2 separate regions of the Homo sapiens genome follow, and region 1 is linked to region 2. Evidence: promoter capture Hi-C in human tissues and cell types (Jung and others, 2019). All regions are on one chromosome and are shown on one strand. The core of a region is centred on a gene start or on the middle of the fragment in contact, and the rest is flanking DNA. Distances in the headings are between cores, read along the strand shown.

Evidence for each region. The method cuts DNA at HindIII sites, captures the fragments that hold promoters and counts their contacts. A contact is called where the count stands out against the background at its distance.
Region 1: a fragment that was not itself captured here is called in contact with the fragment with the promoter of GSTA5 in region 2 in 1 of the 25 tissues and cell types used here (spleen).

The regions. Positions count from the first base shown.
Region 1 is chr6:52,896,470-52,899,542 of GRCh38, forward strand. It overlaps GSTA3 (glutathione S-transferase alpha 3), which reads right to left. Exons shown (of 7, transcript NM_000847.5): 6 at 1,356-1,487; 7 at 177-459. The coding sequence ends at 337. All of the region lies in intron 2 of LOC105375091 (a long non-coding RNA gene), which reads left to right. Among named protein-coding and RNA genes, the nearest start is that of GSTA3, 12 kb to the right of the region's middle. The HindIII fragment of the contact is 6,470 bases long and covers 1-3,073 here.
Region 2 is chr6:52,839,518-52,842,465 of GRCh38, forward strand. GSTA5 (glutathione S-transferase alpha 5) reads right to left here and starts at 1,296. Exons shown (of 6, transcript NM_153699.3): 1 at 1,210-1,296. The coding sequence starts at 1,296. The HindIII fragment of the contact is 18,057 bases long and covers 1-2,948 here.

The DNA of each region.
Region 1 (3,073 bases), core at 375-2,874, 57 kb after region 2:
CATTGACATTTTAATAGATTGTATGACAAATGTTACAGGATAATTCTTGGTAAAAGTCAAACCATATAACCTACATTTCCCATTTTTACTAAATTTTTAATTTCAAGAAAGAGGTTAGGAGGAGATTAGAAATCTGAATTCATATCAGATCCTAATGAAAAGGCTTAAATTTTAACTAAGTTAGCAAATAGGAGTTTTTATTATTTAATTAGCATATAATTGGAAAGGGTTCATTAGCTTTACAACAGGCACAATCAACACTTAAGTAAAGCACTTCATTGTTGCAAAACTTTAGAATATTGGTCTTGCATGTTCTTAGCCTCCATGGCTGCTTTATTAAAACCTGAAAATCTTTCTGGCTTCTTCTAAAGCTTTTGCATCTGCGGGAGGCTTCCTTGGGCTGCCAGGCTGTAGAAACTTCTTCACCGTGGGCAGGTTGCTGATTCTGGTTTTCAGGGCCTGTAATTCACAAAGCACAGCCTCAGAGTGAAGCCAAGGTCTGCCACCACCATTAATACCACCCAGGGAATTTGACCCCTCCTGCCAGAGACCAAGTGAGTCCCCTCCATCAGCACCAGCATGGAGGCAGAAACAGACACCCAGTGATAAATGAAGATAAGAGGAAGAACATGTAGCTCACTTTATTTTCCGCAAAGATGTCTTAAAGTTTTAATCAATTCAGTCATCCCTATCTTTCTCCTTACATATCAATCCTGTAGATTAGTGACTCTTGTATAAGACAAGAAAAAATAATGTGCCTGTGAGATATCAACACAGGTCAGTCTCTAAGCAGAAGTGAAAATATGGAGAAATGAGTTGGAAAGGAAAATGTTATAGAAAATATTAAAGTCAAACCATGGGACCACGTTTTCTCAGTGAGAGATACAGGGTTGGGGGCAGTGTGTTGGGTGTGCTGTGCACAGAGGAACACAACTATCTGACAGCTCCTGCTGCCCACCCTGGCCAGAGCCTAAGGAAGGAACCAGATGGAAAGGGCCCTGCTCAGACCAATTCAGTGTGGGAACACAAGGACAGTCTTGGGATAAAGGGAATCACAGAACTCAGGAACAGACCACAGAGGAATGGGGGAGGAAGGAAGATGCTGGGCCCTGGGTCCTTTCCGTGATAAAAGGCAAAATACTTTTCATGGGGTAGCATGACCACAAATTTCCTTTCCAGAACAAGAGTCTTTTCATGCCTCAAAATTGGGGTCTGGAAGCTCATTTTGGAGACCTGGGGGTACTGAAGGCCTGAAAAAGGCTGGGGTCAGAACATGGCCAGTCCAAGGGCCCAGATACTAGATCCCAAGATGGGACATGTGGGGCTGTCTCTCTGAGGGCTGTGAAATGGGTCACCTTCAGCAGAGGGAAGTTGGAGATAAGGCTGGAGTCAAGCTCTTCCACATAGTAGAGAAGTTCCACCAGGCTAATGTCAGCCCGGCTCAGCTTGTTGCCAACAAGGTAGTCTTGTCCATGGCTCTGTAACACCTGGAGAATTTGAGGAATCAGATCAGGAATACATGCGCACCCAGGATGGGACCCCTGCTTCTCCCTGAGTCTTTCCAGCCTGACATTCCCACCTGTGTTGCCTAACTGGATGGTGTGAAGGTCCAGGCCTTTGTTTATGTTCCCTGATTGAGTGAGGGAGCAAGAATGTGGCTCTGCTCACTCCTCAGTTGGAGCTCAGGCTCCCATTTTCTCTTCTCATTCCACATCACTGTGGCATCCACACCATCCACCTGCTTGCATTTTCCACATGGGCCAGGGGTTTAGCACCTGCTACTGCATGTTCTGTCTGCCCCAGGCCCTACAGCGTGTAGCCTTGACATTCAGGATGTGGCTCTACAATCTGCTCTCTCCCTCTCCAATCTCCCTTGGGCAGTGACTCCACCTTCATGACAGCACTCTTCCTCCAGGAGTAGACTATTTCAGAGTCTTCATTTCTCCATATGTTCCATAGACTCAACAGCAACCTCTAGTGTGATTCAGAGCCTTCCACAGCCCACGTTCTACTTAAAAACATAAAATTTTGTTGAATAGAGAATTCTATATTGGGGTCTAGTAAATTGAAATTTTGCTGGAAAATTATAACTTGGGTATAAGTGGTATCATTGTTCCTCCAAGTCTATCTTCATAAAATGCCTTGTCTGCTTTCCTCATTTCCTGTTCTATCTCCCTGGGATCTGAAGTAAACCTGGGTTGTTATATATAAAGTTTCAGTGACGCAAAAAGAATAGTACTTGAATATAAAATTTTCTTTTTAATTCTCAGCAAGGCAAGGTACTTCTATATAGAAGGGTGCGCTCTCACAGATGGAACAACGGTGAGCGCACACTTGGACAAAGGAGGGGAAGGGTTTCTTATCCCTGACGCACGTGGCCCCTGCTGCTGTGTCTTTCCCCCTGCTGCTGTGTCGTTCCCCTATTGGCTAGGGTTAGACTGCACTGGCTAAACTAATTCTGATTGGCTAATTTAAAGAGAATGACGGGGTGAGTGCTTTGGCAGGAGTCAGGGCAGAGCAGGTAGCCGGCAATCGGAATGAGTTAGGAGGAGAAGGTAATCGGAATGAGTTTGGGTAGAGCAGGTAATCAGAATGAGTCAGGGTAGAGCAGGTAATCGGAATGAGTTAGGGTAGAGCAGGTAATCGGAATGGGTCAGGGTGGAGCAGGTGATCGGAATGAGTTAGGGTGGAGCAGGTGATCGGAATGAGTCAGGGTGGAGTAGGTAATCGAAAAAGATTGCTTTACGAGGTAGTTAAGTTTAAAAGTAGAAGGCAAAAAATTGAATATACTGACATGTTAATTCTTTGAAAAGAAATTTAGAACTCCTATCTAACAGGGTGAACTTGAATTCATCATCTTTCTTGCAATATCGGCTCTGACTCCTAACCTGCGCTGTTATAATCTGCAAGCTGAAGTGTCTAGGAGTGAACTGCACTGACGTCTGCAACTTACTTTAAAATGAGTTTTAAAAAATCTTCCTCTCCACCCCACTGTCACTATCCTTTTAAGAAATATCCATCTCTGAAACACTACAATATTCTCTGGTTGGGAAATTGGTCTCCTGTCTTCCTA
Region 2 (2,948 bases), core at 46-2,545:
TGAAGCAACGCACAAAGTACCGTTCCGAGGCTCAGGTCCACACGGCGCTGTGAGGCTGAAGGGGCGCGCTAGAAGTTCCCTTCACAGGACGCCACCTCACCTGAAACCCCCCTTTTCTGCTGCCACCCGAGGGACAAGATCTCCTGAGTTTGTCCATGACTCACTTCCCAGGAAAACCCTCAGGCAGTCGCTGAAGGACTCTGGTCTGGACTGGGAAGTGTTTTTCTCAGTGACACCTCTAGAGGGCAGCACTCAGCGGAGTCCCACAGACACCTCCAGGCATTTCCTACTCAAACACTGGGAGGATGACCTGGTAACACTGGGGAATGCTTGGGTGTTCTAGAAGCCTCCACGCCTCATTTTAACCACGTGTTTACTTGTCTGCATCCTCATAGACATGTAGGCCGCCCCAGGGCAGGGACTGTGTCTGTCTTGTTCACTGTCTATCTCCATGACCTAGTACAGAACCTGGAATTAATAAGTGCTCAACAAATAATTGCTGTGAATGTAGTCAATCTTTAATAGGTAGTTTGTTACAATCCACTCCCTTACACCTCTCATTTATAGTTTGCATTTTACCTCTAACTACAGCCATTTTTAAATATTACGTATTTTCATTTTTTTGTTGTGGAAATTATGAACATGAATAAAAATAAACAGAAAAGCATAAAAATTCTCCTTATATTTCTCACCTAGAATCAATAATTATCAACCAAAACCAATGTGAAGTTATATTTATGCCCACCTACTTCTCCTTTTGTAATAATTCCAAAGAAATCCCAGATCCATATGATTAATCCTTAAATACTTCAATGTGTTTTCCTAAAACACATAAACTGTTCTAAAGATAACCATAGTACATTATCACACATGAAATATTAACAATAATTATTTCATGTCATCAAATATTCAGTCAATATCCAAGTTTCTAATGCCATAAATTATTTTTTACAGTTTGTTTAAATTCTAATCCACTTAAGTTCTACACTTTTTGATTAGTTTCTTAATTGTATTTTAATATGTATGCTCTTAGATAAGAAGAAATTTTAACAATTTTTAGGTCAAATCTATTCATCTTTTTCTTAATTACAGTCCATTTTTATTTAAGGCACAATGCTTCAGTAAGTAATCATTGCATAGTTTCTGTGGGAAAAGTATGTGATAACGCAATTTTAAATCCAACTTAAGATGACCTTACTCAGAACCTACCTCTACTCCAGCTGCAGCCAGGAGCCACCGAATGGACTCCATACTGCCCCGTGCATTGGAGTAGTGGAGCTTGGGCTTCTCTGCCATGATAGCAGTCTCCTGGAGGTTTCTCTAAGCCTGAATGAATGAATGAATAATTGAAACGATAGAATCAAAAATGTACTTTAGGATGTGTGGTTGAAAACCACAAACAATGCTGAAGAAGAACCTGCCTTCTTCATGACTGGGTTGAAGGAGTTCCTGGAATGTTTTCTTGGCTCAAATTGTTACCCAGCAGTGGCCACCCTCAAACCAGTCTCAAGTCTTCATTGTTTACCTGTGACTTTTCTTGGCAGCCTAAGAGGTGAGAGTATGTGGTAATAATACATGTACAGGAGTTAATGGAAGGGGAAGAATTCAAGAACTAATATTTATTGAAAACTTCCTCATGATCCTTCCTCAATGCTAGTCCCTTTCAATATTTTATATCTTTAACCCTCCTTATAGTCTCATTAAATGGTTGTTTTCTCCAATTTTTAGTTAATGAAATCGAACATCAGAGAAATACAATGTTCACAGTCACACTCTGGTTGGTGATGGACATGAATATCTACACCAAGGACTAAAATGAAGTCACGCCTGGAAGACATCTGGGTGAAGGCCCTGGGAACCCATGAACTGGTTGTGAAACCAGAGGATGTCACTGACAGGGAGGACCGGCAGGGAGCTAAGTCACTCTTCAGCTCTCTGGCTGTGAGACTGCATTTGATCAAAACCAGAAATTAGGCTTCAGACTTGTTTTACTGTAGCTAGAAGATCCAAAGTCTTTCAACAGAGAATGCTAATACCTTGCTTCTTTTGGTGTTCTATATTTTAACTCTGTGGGGGGCATTTTGTTTTATAACCTGGCAAAAGAGATGTTGCTGCATTAACTTTGCAGGATATGGAAGGAGCTAGCATTTGTTCAACGTCAGTCATACACTGGCCATTCTTCTAAACTTCTCTCATTTTGTCCTACAAAAATCACCTAAGGTGAAAGGCTGTTGCTATTCTCATTTTACAGTTGAGGATACTGAGGTTTTTAAAGTAACTTACCCAGATTAAGTGGTGGATCTGGGATGCAGACTCACTGCTATTAAAAACTAAAGACTGAGTCTTATTTTCTATGTTAATGTTTCTCAAATATGCATGGTAATCTTTCAGTAGATTGTGAAACCCCAGTACTTTTTAAAATAAAATAGAAAAGAATAAAAATATCAGTGAGCATGACATGTTGAAGGGTAAGTAATGTTTCATGAGTTGTTAGTTTCAGTTATTTGTATATTGTGTGTATGGATGTTTGCATGTGTGCACGCTCACCTGCTTGTTGTAAATGGTTAGAGAGAAATTGACTGGGCTCATCAGTGAAGTTTGATAGCCCTTGCTCTATCCCAGGCTGTTTGGGAGGTGGAACATAGCAGAGTATCAGAGAATGAAAACCAATGGCTGCAAGGACAGATGCAACTAATTGTATCATGAATGTGAATGGAAGGACACAGGACTCATTGAAAGCAGGAGTTCCAGTGCCAGGACTTAGGAACAGTTGCATATTCTCTCCAAACCCCCAGCTCTGTGATTAAACATTAAGATTCTTCTTGCAAAGTTTTGTGGTTGTTGAGTTTAGAAGAAAAATATACTTGCCTTTAACAACTAATGTATTTCTTTTTTTTTTTTTTTTGAGATGGAGTTTTACTGTTTTTTTCCCAGGCTAGAGTGCTATG